Regions from separate parts of the Homo sapiens genome. Here all the other regions are linked to region 1. Evidence: promoter capture Hi-C in 16 types of primary human blood cells and fetal thymus (Javierre and others, 2016). All regions are on one chromosome and are shown on one strand. The core of a region is centred on a gene start or on the middle of the fragment in contact, and the rest is flanking DNA. Distances in the headings are between cores, read along the strand shown. Region 1 holds the start of MED23 (mediator complex subunit 23). Region 2 overlaps EPB41L2 (erythrocyte membrane protein band 4.1 like 2). Region 3 overlaps EPB41L2 (erythrocyte membrane protein band 4.1 like 2).

What was found. The method cuts DNA at HindIII sites, captures the fragments that hold promoters and counts their contacts. A CHiCAGO score of 5 or more calls a contact.
Region 2: a contact is called between a fragment that was not itself captured here and the fragment with the promoter of MED23 in region 1, in 5 of 17 cell types (total CD8 T cells, fetal thymus, monocytes and 2 more). The highest score is 7.8, in total CD8 T cells.
Region 3: a fragment that was not itself captured here is called in contact with the fragment with the promoter of MED23 in region 1 in 4 of 17 cell types (naive CD8 T cells, naive CD4 T cells, fetal thymus and 1 more); the score reaches 7.9 in naive CD8 T cells.

Annotation. Positions count from the first base shown.
Region 1 is chr6:131,626,001-131,631,098 of GRCh38, reverse strand. MED23 (mediator complex subunit 23) reads left to right here and starts at 2,857. Exons shown (of 29, transcript NM_004830.4): 1 at 2,857-3,088; 2 at 3,427-3,458; 3 at 3,616-3,703. The coding sequence starts at 3,050. RefSeq lists enhancers at 2,868-3,037, 3,168-3,217. The HindIII fragment of the contact is 7,493 bases long and covers 1-4,024 here.
Region 2 is chr6:130,874,791-130,879,888 of GRCh38, reverse strand. EPB41L2 (erythrocyte membrane protein band 4.1 like 2) reads left to right here. Exons shown (of 20, transcript NM_001431.4): 14 at 1,639-1,785. Among named protein-coding and RNA genes, the nearest start is that of SMLR1, 50 kb to the right of the region's middle. RefSeq lists enhancers at 915-1,084, 2,857-3,026. The HindIII fragment of the contact is 155 bases long and covers 2,102-2,256 here.
Region 3 is chr6:130,891,173-130,896,270 of GRCh38, reverse strand. It overlaps EPB41L2 (erythrocyte membrane protein band 4.1 like 2), which reads left to right. Exons shown (of 20, transcript NM_001431.4): 9 at 1,152-1,304; 10 at 1,830-1,927. Among named protein-coding and RNA genes, the nearest start is that of SMLR1, 66 kb to the right of the region's middle. The HindIII fragment of the contact is 9,496 bases long and covers 1-5,098 here.

The sequences.
Region 1 (5,098 bases), core at 1,608-4,107:
TTTGGAGATGAGAAACCTGATGTGATGACTCCTGTGGTGTAGCAATTGTTTTCTACTGAACGATCAGCATTCCTAAGGTTGTCTCTGGTTCATGGAAGACTGTTTCTCTTACTTTGTCTCAAGTACAGAAATATTCCCTAGTAGTGTTAGATTTCTAGGAGCCCTTTCTTGTTCATTTTGAAACTCAGAAATCTTTGGATTTCCAAACATTTTCCAGGTTTTCATAGGCTCTTCTCATTTTTAGTGTACTCATGAGGGCCTCATTTATGACTCAAATTCTAGAGATGTCTCCAGAAGAGACATTATAAAACAACCATGCTGCCTGGGCTCTCCGAGGTAGAGCTCAGTGTCACAGTGCTCCCACGGTGCCCATCCATGAAGCAGAAGGTACAGGCCACGTACTGTTTACATCTCTGAAACCTGGCATGAACCAAGTTATTTCCCCAAACCTTTAAACTCCTCTCTGCCGTGTCAACTCCGTGGTGGCAGGAACTAGGTCAGTTTGAGCTTACAGTCTTGTTCTAGTGTCTAGCACAGTGGCCAACACCTAGAAGACATTCAATGAACACTTGCTGAATAAATTTTGTAACGGTTTCAGAAATAACATTAGAAGTATAAGCTACCACATACATAAATGTCCAGTGAACCCAACTGTTATAAATTATAATAACTTTACTAGGTATAACTTTGTAGGTGTTCCAAATCTTTCTCTACATCCAGCATTCCAGAAATAGCTATTACCTCAGAGGAAGTCTTGTCCATAAAATAAAGGCACTTCAGATGTTTTTATTCTACCCAAAGTAATGAATAATGACTGAGCACCACCAAGTACCAGACTTTATGCCAGGTGTTAGGAAATGCAGGCATGTTTAATTTCTGTATCTACTCTAAAGAGCTTTAGTCTAGTTGAAGAAGTAGACATTTTAAACCATAATATAGTGTAATCTGTGCAATACTAGTAGTGCTAATAAAGTGCCAGGAGGAAAGAGGAAGAAATACAAATTTTTCTACAGAAAGGGATTTAGAAAGATATCTACGTGAGTTTGCTCAGACTGCTGTGAATAGCATACTATAAACTGGGGTGATTCGAGTCTCAGCAAACTGAACGCTGAGAACTCAGGCTTCTTGTTCCTTTTGGCTGCAAGAAGGTTGGCAGCCAGTCAGAACTTTACCCACTTGTAAGAGATCAGGCTTCTTGTTCCTTTTGGCTGCAAGAAGGTTGGCAGCCAGTCAGAACTTTACCCACTTGTAAGAGATTAGATGTATCTTCCTTGGTGATTCAGACCAGCCTAAGGGGAAAGACCTGATGATACCAACTTTGGGGATTCTCCAAGAAACAATGTCCCCAGAACACACTATAAAGATGCTCAAAGTTGATAAGCCCTGCCCAGCTGCTCAGAGTTTCCAGTTGGCTCTTTAGTCCCCCACTCTAAATCCTGATAGGACAAGGATGGAACAAGAAGCCTGAATTCTCAGCTTTCAGTTTGCTCAGACTCAAATTACCCCCCAGTTTATAGTATGCTGTTCACAGCAATCTAAGCAAACTCCCCTAGGTATCTTTCTAAATTCCTTTCTGTAGAAAAATTTGTATTTCCTCCTTTTCTCCCTGGCACTTTATTAGCATCACTAGTATTGCACATATCACACTCTATTATGGTTTAAAATGTCTATGTCTTCAACTAAGCTAAAGCTCTTTAGAGTAGATACATGGGCCCTAACCTGACTGATGTCCTTCTAGGAAGAGAAAATTACGACACAGACATGTACAAAGGGAAGACCATGTGAAGACACAAGGAGAAGAAGGTCATCTACAAGCCAAGGACAGAGGCCTCTATAGAAACTAACCCTATCAACCTCAACCTCAGACTTCCAGCCTCCAGAATTACAAGAAAAGAAATTTCTGTTGTTTAAGCCACCCAGTCTGTGGTATTTTGTTATGGCAACCCTAGCAAACAATACCCTAAGCCTAACTTTTCAAGTTTTTCTCCAGCAGGAAATCTGAATTATTTCTTTTCAGCTTTTAGTAGCTATTGTGTGGACAACATGGTTGCATGTGCATATTAAAGTTGTTAGAAAACTAAATTTATGCCAGGTCAGACACTTGTATAACAAAACCATGAATGGGGAGTCATCAGCTCATCACTTAGCAGCTACAAAGGAGTAGTTCATGCTTAGCAGTTTGTGGCATTTCACAACCGTCAAAGAAGTGAAAGGCCTTTGGATGTCTATGACTCTCATCAACAATTTTCTTTATGAGGCAAAGAAAGCTGATCATTCAAGACATAACAGATGTTTTAGGGGTTGGTGATGATGGTGGCATATGAAGAAAAACACATACTCTCAACAATATAATAGCAAATAGAATCTAGCAATATATTAAAAAGGATAATATATTATGACCAAGTAGCATTTATACCATAGAAGCAAAATTGGTTTGGCATTCAAAAGTCAATCAATTACATTTGCACTGAGGTTATCATAGCTGAGAAGACACCGTCTCTGTGGCTTCAGCTCCTGGCTGCAGGCCGCTGATGGAGGTCCAGAAGGTCAGCTGCTCACAGACATCAACTTGGTGTCGGCTGCGGCTCCAGCATTTTCCGCAGGCTGCAGCTTCTGGGTTCCAAACTTTTCATTTCTCAGTCTGCAAGCGGGTTAGCCCCGAACAGGAAGCAACTCCTTCTCCAGCCGGGAGGTGGCGGCCTGCGGTCGACGATGCCTCCGGGGTCCTTGGGCTCAAGGTTCCGTTTGGGGGCGCTCTCGTCCGGCTTGCGGGCCGCCCTTCTCCACAGACGGAACCTTCTGGTGGCGCCGCTGGTTTCTGCGGGGTTTGCAAACGGCGCGTACCGGGCCCTTCCCGTCTTCCGTACAGGTTCCTGCTGTTGGCTGGGCTCGGGAGGGAACGCTCCAGGTAAAGCGCTGGGGGAGGAAGCGACGCCGAGGAGCTACGGTTTCCTCCAGAGGTCTCCGCCCCTCTGCCCCTATATTCCCAGAGCTCGAGTCTGATCCGGGCCTTGCCGGGCACCCTGGAAAGGCGGGGGTGATAGTACAGATGGAGACGCAACTGCAGAGCATTTTCGAAGAGGTGGTGGTGAGTGCAGCTGCCGGCCATCCAGGACTACGGCTTGGGGACGGGGAGACGCGGGGGCAGCCGACCAAGGAAACTGGCCTGGGCAACCTCCTCTCACGCCTCCCTTTTTATTCCCTTGTTTTGACACCGAGGTTGTATGCGGGGAAGTTTAGTGATTCTCAAACTGCTGTCAAGTTCATTGTATCCTTTGAAATCGATACAGTGACAGGCCAGACAGGTATTGATAGTTTCAGAGCTGATTAAGGTGACTTGCCCTGTGTTACATTGTAATACTTGGCTAAGGGAGGCGCCTTTTTAAAATTAACATTGTTTACATTTTGTTTTTTTTTTTTTTACAGAAAACGGAAGTTATAGAAGAGGCTTTTCCTGGGTGAGTGTATGCGTGGCAGAGTTTTGTGTTTTTATGTGATTGTGTCTGTCAGATTTTACTTAGTTTCGTGTTGGAAGGTTATAAGATCCACTATTCTGATTGTGTGTAATTACCTTTTTAAAACGAATGACAAATAATGTAATTTTTATTTTTTTAGCATGTTTATGGATACTCCTGAAGATGAGAAAACAAAACTAATTAGCTGTTTGGGGGCCTTCAGACAGTTTTGGGGTGGTCTTTCTCAGGTGAGCGCTTCATTTTTAATACATTCAGCTGATGATTTTTGGCCTCTTCTTTTTTTTTTTTTTTTTCTTTTAACATTTACTTTCATGCTGCTCTTAAGATCTTCCTGAGAAGGGAGAAATAAAATTGTTATCATTTTTTATTCTGGCTTCCATTTGTTTTAATTTGTATATTTCAGTGGAAAACCTGTGTTGAGAAGTCAAGTTGATACTGCACAGTGTGAGATGTTTAAAAAAAAAAACCTCCCCTATGTTAGATTAATTGAGATCATTTTCATCCTATTCGGATTTATTTGGTACACTTGAAAACAGATATGTTAAGCTTTACTTGTCAAGGATACAAATTCCATTTTTCTGCTAAATAAAGGAATTGGCACAGCATTGATACAAAGATGCTACAATAGGAATACCAAGATTCTATAATAAGGATAGGAAAATATTATAGTAAAAATGAGGAGACAAACTGTAAAAGTAACAAAGAACAGCTACCAGAAAATGTATCCGTGAAAAAGACAAAAATGTGTCATCCTCGAAGAGCTCACATTGCAGTAGTGCCTTACCTTCTCATGGTACACTATAGGTAGGGAAATGAGAACTGTTTGCGTGTCAGCCACTGGTGATAAGATTTGCCACTCAGACATGGATCATATAATGCCAATACAGTCATGTTTTAACCTTTTTGTTTAGTTGTTTTCTAATAGGTAATACATTTATATGGTTCAAAATGCACAGGTATAAAAGGGTGGATCCAATAACTAGTCTCTTTCTCTTCTCTTACCTGTTATTTTTTCTGTCTGTAGCCAATATCCTCAGGTTATGTTTTCTTCTAGAAGTATTTTATGCATATAGAAACACTTTTATAGCATGATCATATACCATGTACACTGTTCATTAATTAGCACTTTTTTTCTCCTAATAATAATCTACAGGTAATTCCCTATCAGTCCAAGCGTTACTTGTTCCTTCCTTTCTTACTTTTTTTTTTAAATAGCAGCATAATATTCCATTGTATGGCTGTACCTTCCTCCTTTTAACCAATCTTCTACTGTCTTCTAAGTTTCTTCTTACTTTTTCTAATTTAACCAATGCTGTGATGAATAATATTATGCATGAAAAATAGGATAAATTCCTAGAAATAGTATTGCTGAGTCAAAAGCCTTATCAGTTTGTAATTTTTATAGAAATTATTAAATTTTCCATAAGGGTTATACTAGTTTATGCTTCCACCAGCAGTGTTTGAGATTATCTTTTTCTTTTCTTTTTTTTTTTTTTTTTTGGAGACAGAGTCTCACTCTGTCGCCCAGGCTAGAGTGCAGTGGCGTGATCTTGGCTCACTGCAACCTCTGCCTCTCGGGTTCACGCCGTTCTCCTGCCTCAGCCTCCCGAGTAGCTGGGACT
Region 2 (5,098 bases), core at 930-3,429, 750 kb after region 1:
AGTACTCTTGAAGTTGTTCTACAAGTAAACCTATTCTCTCCTAAAGGGTTAACTCTAGGGCATCAACCTGAGGTAACACAATCTCATCCTTAATATGTATTAACTAGAACAGAGATTTGTTTATTGATCTGGCATTAAATCATGTGACTCTTGATCTTGATCTGTGCCCACTTTTTTTGTTTTTTTTGGTTAAAATCCATGATTGGGAATGTGGTCCACTTTCAGTATTCTGTTTGAGAATATGCTAATTAAAGAAATTATTTTAATTAGAAAGAACAAGCAAAAGTGAGAGAGAAGGAAAGGAGAAAAAGAAAGCCCAATCACCCAATTATGAATGTAAAGTGTAAAATATGTTCCCCGTGTCACGTGAGAACATTTTTTTTTCCCTTCTTATTTTACAGTAGTATGTGGCAATGTATTCAATGGAGAACTGCAGCTCTCAGTAATCTGACTAATCTGTTTGGTTGCTTTTGGCAGCTTGGTAACTGATGGAAATGTATTTTTGCTTAACTTACTAAAATGCTGTACAGTGTAATAAGTAACATTGCTTTGAACCAATGCAAGAAATGTGCCTGATCTCAAGCCACAGTCATTTTTCCATGCCATGCAAAGATTTTTAGATTTTCATGAGTTTTTGCAAATGGCTATAGAAGCTCATAGATGAGCTACTATGCTTGTGCATGAATATGGAATATCTAATTTTATTGGTTGCATGACCTGTTCCTTAAAGTGGGATGAAAGCTATAATCCACAGGTGGCCCTATGATTTTTGAAATATAAATAAATATTTAAAATTTGGTTAAAACAAATACTATTTATGAGAGCCAGTCGAAAAAAATTCCACAAATACCATTTATCAGGGCCTGCTCCCATGAAAATGGACCTGGTAGTTTTTCTTGTATATTTGTCTGTATAAGGACGATCTGGCAGTTGCGGAGGCTAGACCCCACTTTTGTGCTTGGCAAGTACATGAGACCAGTCTGTGGTTTATTTATTCTATAAAGAGGCTAAACAGAAGCAGCCTCTGGAAGCAGTAATTTTTATTCCTTAAGAATTAAAAGCCATCACTGGAATTTCCTGAAAACAAACAAACAAACAAAAAACCTTGGCTTTTCCAGCTGGGGGTTGATCCTGGTCTGGCTTTTTCTTCCAGCCAGTGTGCTTCTGAGTCTCTACCTTCCTCTATTTTGTACTTGATTTCCTATATTCACAGAATGCAATTTTAGGAGTAGTCCTAATCAGAAAGGTAAATTTGCTGGAACAAAGTCATAGTCTGAGTTTCAAATCCAGGTACTGGAAGGAAGTGTTATTAGCCATTTTGATGATCAGTTCCATGTCATCTTTCTGATAATGTAAATAATTATTCCTTTAAAAATCCTAAATAGAGAAGAAATCAGAACCCTTTAAAATGTAAATCATTGAAGAAGTACGCATTGACTTTATTTTCAAATTTTGATGAATTCATGAACTTACTCATAGATAATAATATGGCTTTAGAGACTTGGCATTTTTCTTGCTTTACTATGGTTTTTTTTTTAATCGTAAGTTTGCTTTGTCTTATTTTTTGGTTTTATTTTTGTCCTACTGGGTTTTTTCCTTTTGGATTTTTCCCCCCTTTGTTACGTTACATATTGCTAGGAACTGGATAAGGCCCAGGAGGACATACTGAAACATCAGGCTAGCATTAGTGAACTCAAGCGCAATTTTATGGAATCCACACCTGAGCCGCGCCCTAATGAATGGGAAAAACGACGTATCACACCTCTGTCCCTACAGACACAAGGGGTATGTCATTAGCTATTTGTTGGCTCTGTCTCACTTCAGTTGCTCAATAAAACTTAAATTGTTAATCTCTATGTTGAGTCTAGGGAAGTTACAAAATGTTCCCATTTAATTATTTTTATGTAATTACTAACAATTTTGTAAATACTAAATATTAACAATGTAATAGTTATTGGCCTAGTTCTTAGGTAAATTGCATGAGTTTCAAAATACTTTTGAAATAGTTTTAGGATAATTTCACTATTTTACTCAGGTAAATTGTAGTAATGAATTGTTATATAGGACAATTTAGAAACTAACATACTGTATTTAATAAGCTTTTTAGTTACTGATATCTGAAATAGGGACATTTACTTAGTATAAATAATTAATAAATAAAGAAATATAGGCTATCTTTAGAGTGGTTTAAAGTTATTACTGTGAGGAAAATGAGTTTAACTTAGCTTTAAAGACCGATGAGCCCTGTTGAAAGCTTGAAAAATATTATATATAATATGACTTAGTATTGAAACTTCCTTATAATGAAATGTTAGAATTGTGTTTTAAAAACGTTTTTTCAATCATAACATTTCTCCTCACTTACTCTATTTCTTTTCATGGTTTACTTCTCCCCACCACTGATATGAGTACATATTGCCTTCAGGATATATTCTCAATACATTTCTCCATTCATTGTCATCCACATCTGTGCCTCTAGGATTCTTCCAAATCCCTCCTGTTATTGACCAAGAACTTCCATGGGCTCGTTTATCATACTTGAGCGGACAGTGATCATACTATATTTAATCTGTAGTTTAAAAAATGGTATAAAGATGTTACCCTACAATTTCATCTTTTTCCTTTCAGCATCTAGTCTGGCTTGAATGTTGCCAAATTGTAGACATTGATTTAGATATTCTAGTGCTATTTTTATTCACCTTTCCTTAAAAAGAAAAGCTGTTAGTTGCTTTAAATTTCTAAGTTTGTGCCATTGAAAAAGAAAGCTCTTTAAGAACAGATGAGCAAAAAGAATTGCTGAACTGAAACACAGAACTTTTGAAAATATTAAGACATGCTTGGTAGAGTCTTATGAAGTTGAATACAACTTCAGTTCTTAGTTTCAGATTTTTCTGAAGATGATAAAAAATGTCAATTTCAGCAGTCTATTCCAGAATGTTGTGTTTTCTGGAGAAAGGGTCTGATGCCATGCCAAGGTTTTCACCTTCCATTATGTGCCACTTCTCCTGGTGTGTGTCATTGACCCACACTGGGTCAGTATTTTGTGTTTGTGTTGCTATAGGTGTAATGTATGTGTCTTATTTGTTGATTATGTCTATTGTTTAAAACAATAGAGAAAAGGAGACCATCTTTTCAAGGATATTTTATCCGTGAAGGAGAAGTACCTGATGCCGACAATATGGACAGTTGAAGAAAAAGCTCAGGAGACGGACAAGGTGTTCACCTTGCACCCTTGGATCTACTCTTGCTTTTTCCCCCTTTCCTTTTGTTTCTATCCACAGCCATAAGATTTCTTTTTTCCTGTGTGTCATACTAAAATTTTTTTGAAATGATTTTTGAGCATTTAAAAAGTTAAATCCCCTGTGTATAGAAGCATAGGATTGTTGGATGAGAAATACCATATTGCAGAAGCACTTGAAAAGTCAAAATTTGAAATACAGAAACATCAACCAATTTAGGTGATAACTGATTCCTAATTTGATGTATGTGGCTGACAGTTGGGAAACTGATTTCATGTGAAAGTGCACTGTTTGTACAATACTTATGCATGTCGTGTTGTTAAAATAACCACTTATGTGCCTTAGATGATGAGTTTACTAATTACATATGGAAACCTTTTGAGTTTTCACTTGTAAGATTTTTAATGGGAACAAAGATTTTGATGCACCATAGCAGCCCCTCACCTCTCTCTCTGCTCCTGCATGTGTGACATTTCTGACACTGGTGAGGAAGTTCACTTTCCATTGCTTTTACATCCTCATTCTTCTCTTTCTACTGATTTTACTTAGCCAGGTGGTCAGTCTGTTATTTGCTGGGACTGGAGAGCTTGGAGTCTAGTGGAGGAGACATGGAAATAGTTAATTAGAAAAGTTTCTTTTTTTTCTTTCTTCTTTTTTTTTTTTTTGAGATGCACTCTTGCACATTCGCCCGGGCTGGAGTGCAATGGCATGATCTTGGCTCACTGCAACCTCCATCTCCTGGGTTCAAGCAACTTTCCTGTTTAGCTGGGATTACAGGTGCCTGCTACCAAGTCTGGCTAATTTTTTTGTGTTTTTAGTTGAGACGGGGTTTCACTATGTTGACCAGACTGGTCTTGACTCCTGACCACGTGATTTGCCCTTCTTGGTCTCCCAAAGTGCTAGGATTACAGGCGTGAGCCACCACACCCGGCTGGTGATTAGAAAATTTTCTAATTGGTACTTGGAAAGTTTCAGACACTAGGAAGTAAATGTTAAGAAGGTGAAATACAATGTTGTGTTAGGAGGGGATTAGGAAGACCGTTTTGTCATTGTGGTCAGGAGGAGATGACATTTGAGTTGAAACCTTAATGATAACCAGGTGGACATGTGAAAATGTATCCACGTGTAAGGACGAGCCACAACACAGGAACTGAAAGACCAAATGACAGGGGCTTGGTGAGCAAGGGGGAGCACGAAGGAAGGAAAATTCAAAGAGGTTAGACCCTAGGTCATGTCACGATCTTAAAGGCCATGCTAACAGTTTGGAATTGTACAATAAGAATGATGGGAAAGCATTGGAGAGTTTGAAGGTGAGTAGTGGCAGAATCCCACCTGTTTCTGACAGAAGTCCCCCTGGCACTGGATGAGGAATAGATTATAGGGGCTGTGAATGAGAACAGAGATTATTAATAAGGAAACAGTGATTCCCTTCCACAAAGTAGATTCTGTTAATTGGTAGAGAGTATTCATCAGAACACGTAGCAGGGTTGGGAAAGGAGGCAAAATAAGTAGAAATAAGGAGTTTATGGTCTAGTTGAGATGAAATATTTTCAGAACATTGCAAATGAGAAAGATAATGTCATGAAGCTAAACCAAGTGACATATTTATATACTTTAAAGGTTAGCCTGAAACCAAAGCCAATTAGACTCCATGTGTATAATGAGGACTTTAATATCACATGCTTTGAAATATTACGTATTTTTCATAACCTGTCCTTCAGAAGCAATCACATGGTATCATTCGATCAAATTTAAAGTGATGTCCTTGGATTTTTGCAGTAGGAAACTTTGACATTTTAGTGGAGATGTTTAAAATTATTATCATTTTTCTGGATCTCATGTTTTAGGAATGTACAGTG
Region 3 (5,098 bases), core at 709-3,208, 730 kb after region 1:
TCTAATGTAATTTTATTTGTATATATGAATTACTCAAGTGTCACAGCAGAGAAAGCAACTGGCATCAATTAGCTAATACTATACTTTTATTTATAAAAAACTGATTTAAATGGTATCAAAATGTTCTGAGTAATAAGATAGACAAAATGTCCTTTTATTAAATTGGGAGTTAGACTAAATATGGGGTTTGTTGCAACATTTTTTGTGAGAATTTGTTTCGTATTGTTTGTGATTTCTGAAAATGTGAATGTCTTTGAGCGGTAGTCTTCAATTTTACATATGTTGAATGAGAGCCAGCTCTCCTCTTAGAGATAAACAATAATTTGTATGTTTTGAATACATGCATCTTAGATCTTCACTACTTGAAATGTGAGGAGACAGGTTTTCACTTTTGCCTGTAAATTTGTTTGGTTTTTAAAACATAATTTAGGCCTGTGATTATTCTAGATTGTCATCGATTCCAGATTAAAGCTCTAGGGAAAGAAAACTATTAATAACTTCAAGAATAGTCTGCAGTCCTTTGAAACGTGCCAGCCAAAGGAATGCCTAATGAGAACTGGATGTCAGCATTCTAAGTTAATGAAAAACTGCTTGAAAGAATTCAGAGATTTCAGCACTGTCAGCCTGGAAGAGAAATTATCTGCAAGGGATTGGTGTTTTGCAAAATATTGGCATAATTTTAAGAGCTATTAGCTAGGGTAATCCATCTGAGGTAAATGCACCTAAAGGAAAATGGTTGAACACATCTTAGGGTAGGCCAACAGACTGTCCCTGAGGCTGGACTAGCCTACGGGAAAAGCTCATTTTATTTCCCGTATCTTCAGGATCTCTAGTTCTGCTTCCTTTCTTCTCTGTTAGCTCCTACAGTGGAGCTTGAGAACATATGCATTACGCCTTTTGAAGGACACTGTGTCTTATGGTCATGTTGCCGTAACTCTTCGGCAAATCACACCTGATCCCTGAAGATGAATAAATTTAACATGTATGTGTGTGCGCCATAGTTTTCATTAACGTGCGTACTTGTCACTAAACTTTAAATACAAACCTGTTAAACTGTCATTCCTGATCATGATTTGAGGGAGCTAATTAGCTTCTTGATTTGTGTAACTTTCACAGCTCTTAACCATGGTTAATTGGGTTATGCTTGGCAGGACTCAGAAGGTGTGGACATCAAGCTGGGCGTGTGTGCTAATGGACTTCTCATTTACAAAGACAGACTGCGAATCAATCGTTTTGCTTGGCCGAAAATCTTAAAAATTTCCTATAAACGCAGTAACTTCTACATTAAAGTCAGACCGGCAGAGGTAAGCCAAGACATTTCTAATCAGTTGTTGTTAGTCGGCCTGTTTACGACCATGAATTTAAAAATTCTTTTCTATTAATTCTAAAATTTTAAGAAAATAAACTATTTATTCTTCCATTGTAAAAGGTCAGGGTTCTTAATGGTAAAATTGCAGTATATATACGTCTGGTCTGTTTTTAAAAAAAGCAACCATCACGCTTTTTACAAAAAAGAAAATGTGATAAGGTGTGGGCTCGTTTTTTCTTGTTGAATCAATTAAGTTGTGATCATTAGGAAAGCAATAAGATGAGTTTTAGTGAACATTGAAGGATAGTTGGTTTATGTGAGCCGTTGTTACTTGCTTTTTGTAGAAAATAGTATTGCAGTCTATGAAATTCATCTTTATATGATTATATTAGATATGCAATATTTACCTTTTTTGAGAAGAATAATTGCTTCTCACAGAAACATCTGAATGCATGCTTTTCAGTAACTTCTAGTCAGTTCTTAAGGAAATATGCTGATTTGTTTTACGGATTTATTCCAGCTGGAACAGTTTGAGAGTACCATTGGATTCAAACTGCCAAACCACCGGGCAGCGAAAAGACTATGGAAAGTGTGCGTGGAGCATCATACTTTCTACAGGTAATTTTAGGAAAACAGCTCGGAAGCCGGGCATGATCGCACATGCCTGTAATTCCACTGACTCAGGAGGCAGAGGTGGGAGGATCACTTGACCCCAGGAGTTTGAGACCAGCCTGGGGAACATACTGAGACTCCATCTCTCTTTTTTTCTAAGAAAGAAAGAAAACAGCTTGGTATTGCTTTTAGTAACCTCTGTGAATTAGGAGGTGGTAGTGGTGGGGAATGTGGCAGATGCATTAACCCACTGTCTTTGAACTCTTTTCTCCCCTCCTTGCCTCATCTCCTTTGTCTGCAGTCCCTCCCAGGTCCATTTCTGTCCATGCATTGTCATTTATAACTGAGCTGCCCCTGCAGCTGTCTAGAGCTCCACTTTCTGACTCTAACCACCTTTCCTTCCACCACAGCCACACTGCCTCATGCCTGCTACCATTCTTCTTTCCACTATCCCTCCTCTTAGGTTTCACTTCGATATTCTCATCAGCTGCCTCCTGACTTAACTTCTTTCCCAAACCAACTTGAACCCTATGGTCTGACTGCTTTGTCAGGAACGTTCTGACCCCCTCAAACTACTCTCCTCTTTGCACATTTACCTTCTCTGTCTGCTAGTCCTGGATTAGTCCTGTGTCCTGACCTCACCAGTTTTGGACCTGTGCTGTCCAAGTGCTACCTTAAAAATAGTACAACCATTGTGACACATGCAGTTACTCTATATAACAAAAAATAGCACAACTCTATGGATTAGTGCTATTACAGATAAATAATTTCCAGCATGAGCTGGATCCTCAGTGCTGCTAGGCAAGCAATTTGTCTTTTGACTTCCTTTGCCACTCCAAATGCTCATGGTCCTCGTGAGTCCCTAGGCACCCCTGCTTCCTCTTCTGATGCCCTCCACTGTGTGGGTCACTGAAAGAAGAAGCTGTGCATGAGTGTTCTTGGTTTCATGCACCTTCCCTTCTTCCCTTTTGCCTTTAATGAAGCATCGCTCCTCTCTCCTCCCATTCATTCTTTCCCACTTCTCCTGTCTCAAGGAGGAGATAATCATTCCTCTGCTTTGATCCCTCATTTTGTGCCTCTTAAATTATCCTGCTTTGTAAATTATTTGTTCCCTAGTGGGTACCTTTAGGTTCTTTGGCCAATAAATATGTCCACATCTTGCTCTTTAAAAAACAACAACAAATATGTATATATGGTTATATAAGATTTTGTATATAAAATCTTTGATCATCTAACCATCTTTAGCTTGTATCTTGTCTCTTTTTATACTTTTCTTCAAGGACATGTTTTTTACATGTAGTTTGCTTATCTTTGTTTTCTCCGTTTCCTCAGTTTTCTCTCACTGCAGTTTAGCTAGCTGTGTATCTAGATCCTTCATCTTTAAGGTTTTTGCTCTGGACTTATGGTCTAATACTGTTCTACCAAATACGAGCTGTGTCACCGTGATACCAACCTCTCTGCTTCACTTCCATCATCCATATATGATAGTAATACTAGTATCTACCTCATAGGATTGTTTTGAAAATTAAATGAGATAACACACATGAAACAACTTAGAACCATTTCTGGCATATCATAAAATTTATCTTCACCATTATCATTATTCTTCGTTTGGTATCACAGTTTGCTATTTTTAATGTGAATTATCAGCTGGCACACATGATTCTTTCTTGACGTTAAATTGATAATATCTATTTTTCAAGACTAATATGTTAATTTTTGAGGAGAAATATAACTCATAAAATATGCTTGAATCCCTCAAGTTACACTGATCATATAAATCTTTGAAAACTTTATAATTTTTCTTGGTAGCCATAACAAATTTCTCCTCCAGACAACATGAGCCAGCTCATATAAAGCTAGTAGATGACATTTATGACACAGGTCCAAGCTGGGCAGACAACAGCTTTCCCTGTCACATAATGATAAAAAAAAAAAAAAAAAAAGCAATAATCTGTTCAGAAATGGCAAGTGCTAGCATTCATTGAACACTTATTAGAGTCAGACACAGAATTGATTGCTTTATATCGTGGTCTATTTCTCGCCCTAGGCAAGACAACTGATGCTTAGAGATCGGTGCCTGTGGAGGAGCACAGCAGCCAGGCATCTGAGCAGAGATGGGGACCGGGCTTCCTGATTCTGACACCTGTATTCCTCACCTCTGTGCTGTCCTCTTCTTGTATTCTTGTAGCAGGAGTTTCCGAGGTGCATTAGCTGTGCAAAGCCTCAGGCCTCCTCATTTTTGCTAATGTACCATGGACTCCAGTTTAAAAGTAGACCAATTTGCTCCTGCAAACTTTTGATATAATGGTTAACAAAAGCAGTTTTAAATTTTTAAACCTTGCATAACGCTGCTTACAAAGCTATATAAAAGAATATATCTAACACAAAGGGCCAGTCATACTTTGTCTATAGATTGCTTTGAATCAGGTCAGTGGAATTTATTCTGTTTCAGTTTATCATGAAAGGTACAAATGATTTCTTTAGAAAATTACGGTGGCTTGCAGATTGAAGCCATTAATCTGTAAACAGATCTATTAATTGATAGCCAATCAGCTAGATTGATACTAGTGGAATAAGAATGTAGTAATAAAACTGATATGGCCGGGCACAGTGGCTCATGCCTGTAATCCCAGCACATTGGGAGGCTGAGGCGGGTGGATCACAAGGTCAGGAGTTTGAGACCAGCCTGACCTGGTGAAACTGTGTCTCTACTTAAAAAAATACAAAAATTAGCTGGGCATGGTGGCATGTACCTTTGTAATCCCAGCTACTCAGGAGGCTGAGGCAGGAGAATCACTCGAACCCGGGAGGCGGAGGTTGCAGTGAGCCGAGATTGCAACACTGCACTCTAGCCTGGGTGACAGAGCGAGACTCCTTCTCAAAAAATTAAATAAGTAAGTAAGTAAGTAAGTAAGTAAATAAATAAATAAATAAAGCTGACACCCTTGCTTGGAGCATTTAATAGAGCCTGTCACCATTCTGAGTGTTGTACAGGGATTCTTTTTTTTTTCTTTATTGCAGAAGATGATTTCTAAAAAAATTGTACAGAAAGTCTAGAAATACTTGAAATGATAGTGTTCTTTAAGAAATCACTCTTCCATAGTAAATGATAGGAAAAGTTTCGGTGGAATTCTTCATGTTTTTGAGTTGTCAACAAAAGTCTTCCTATTTAAT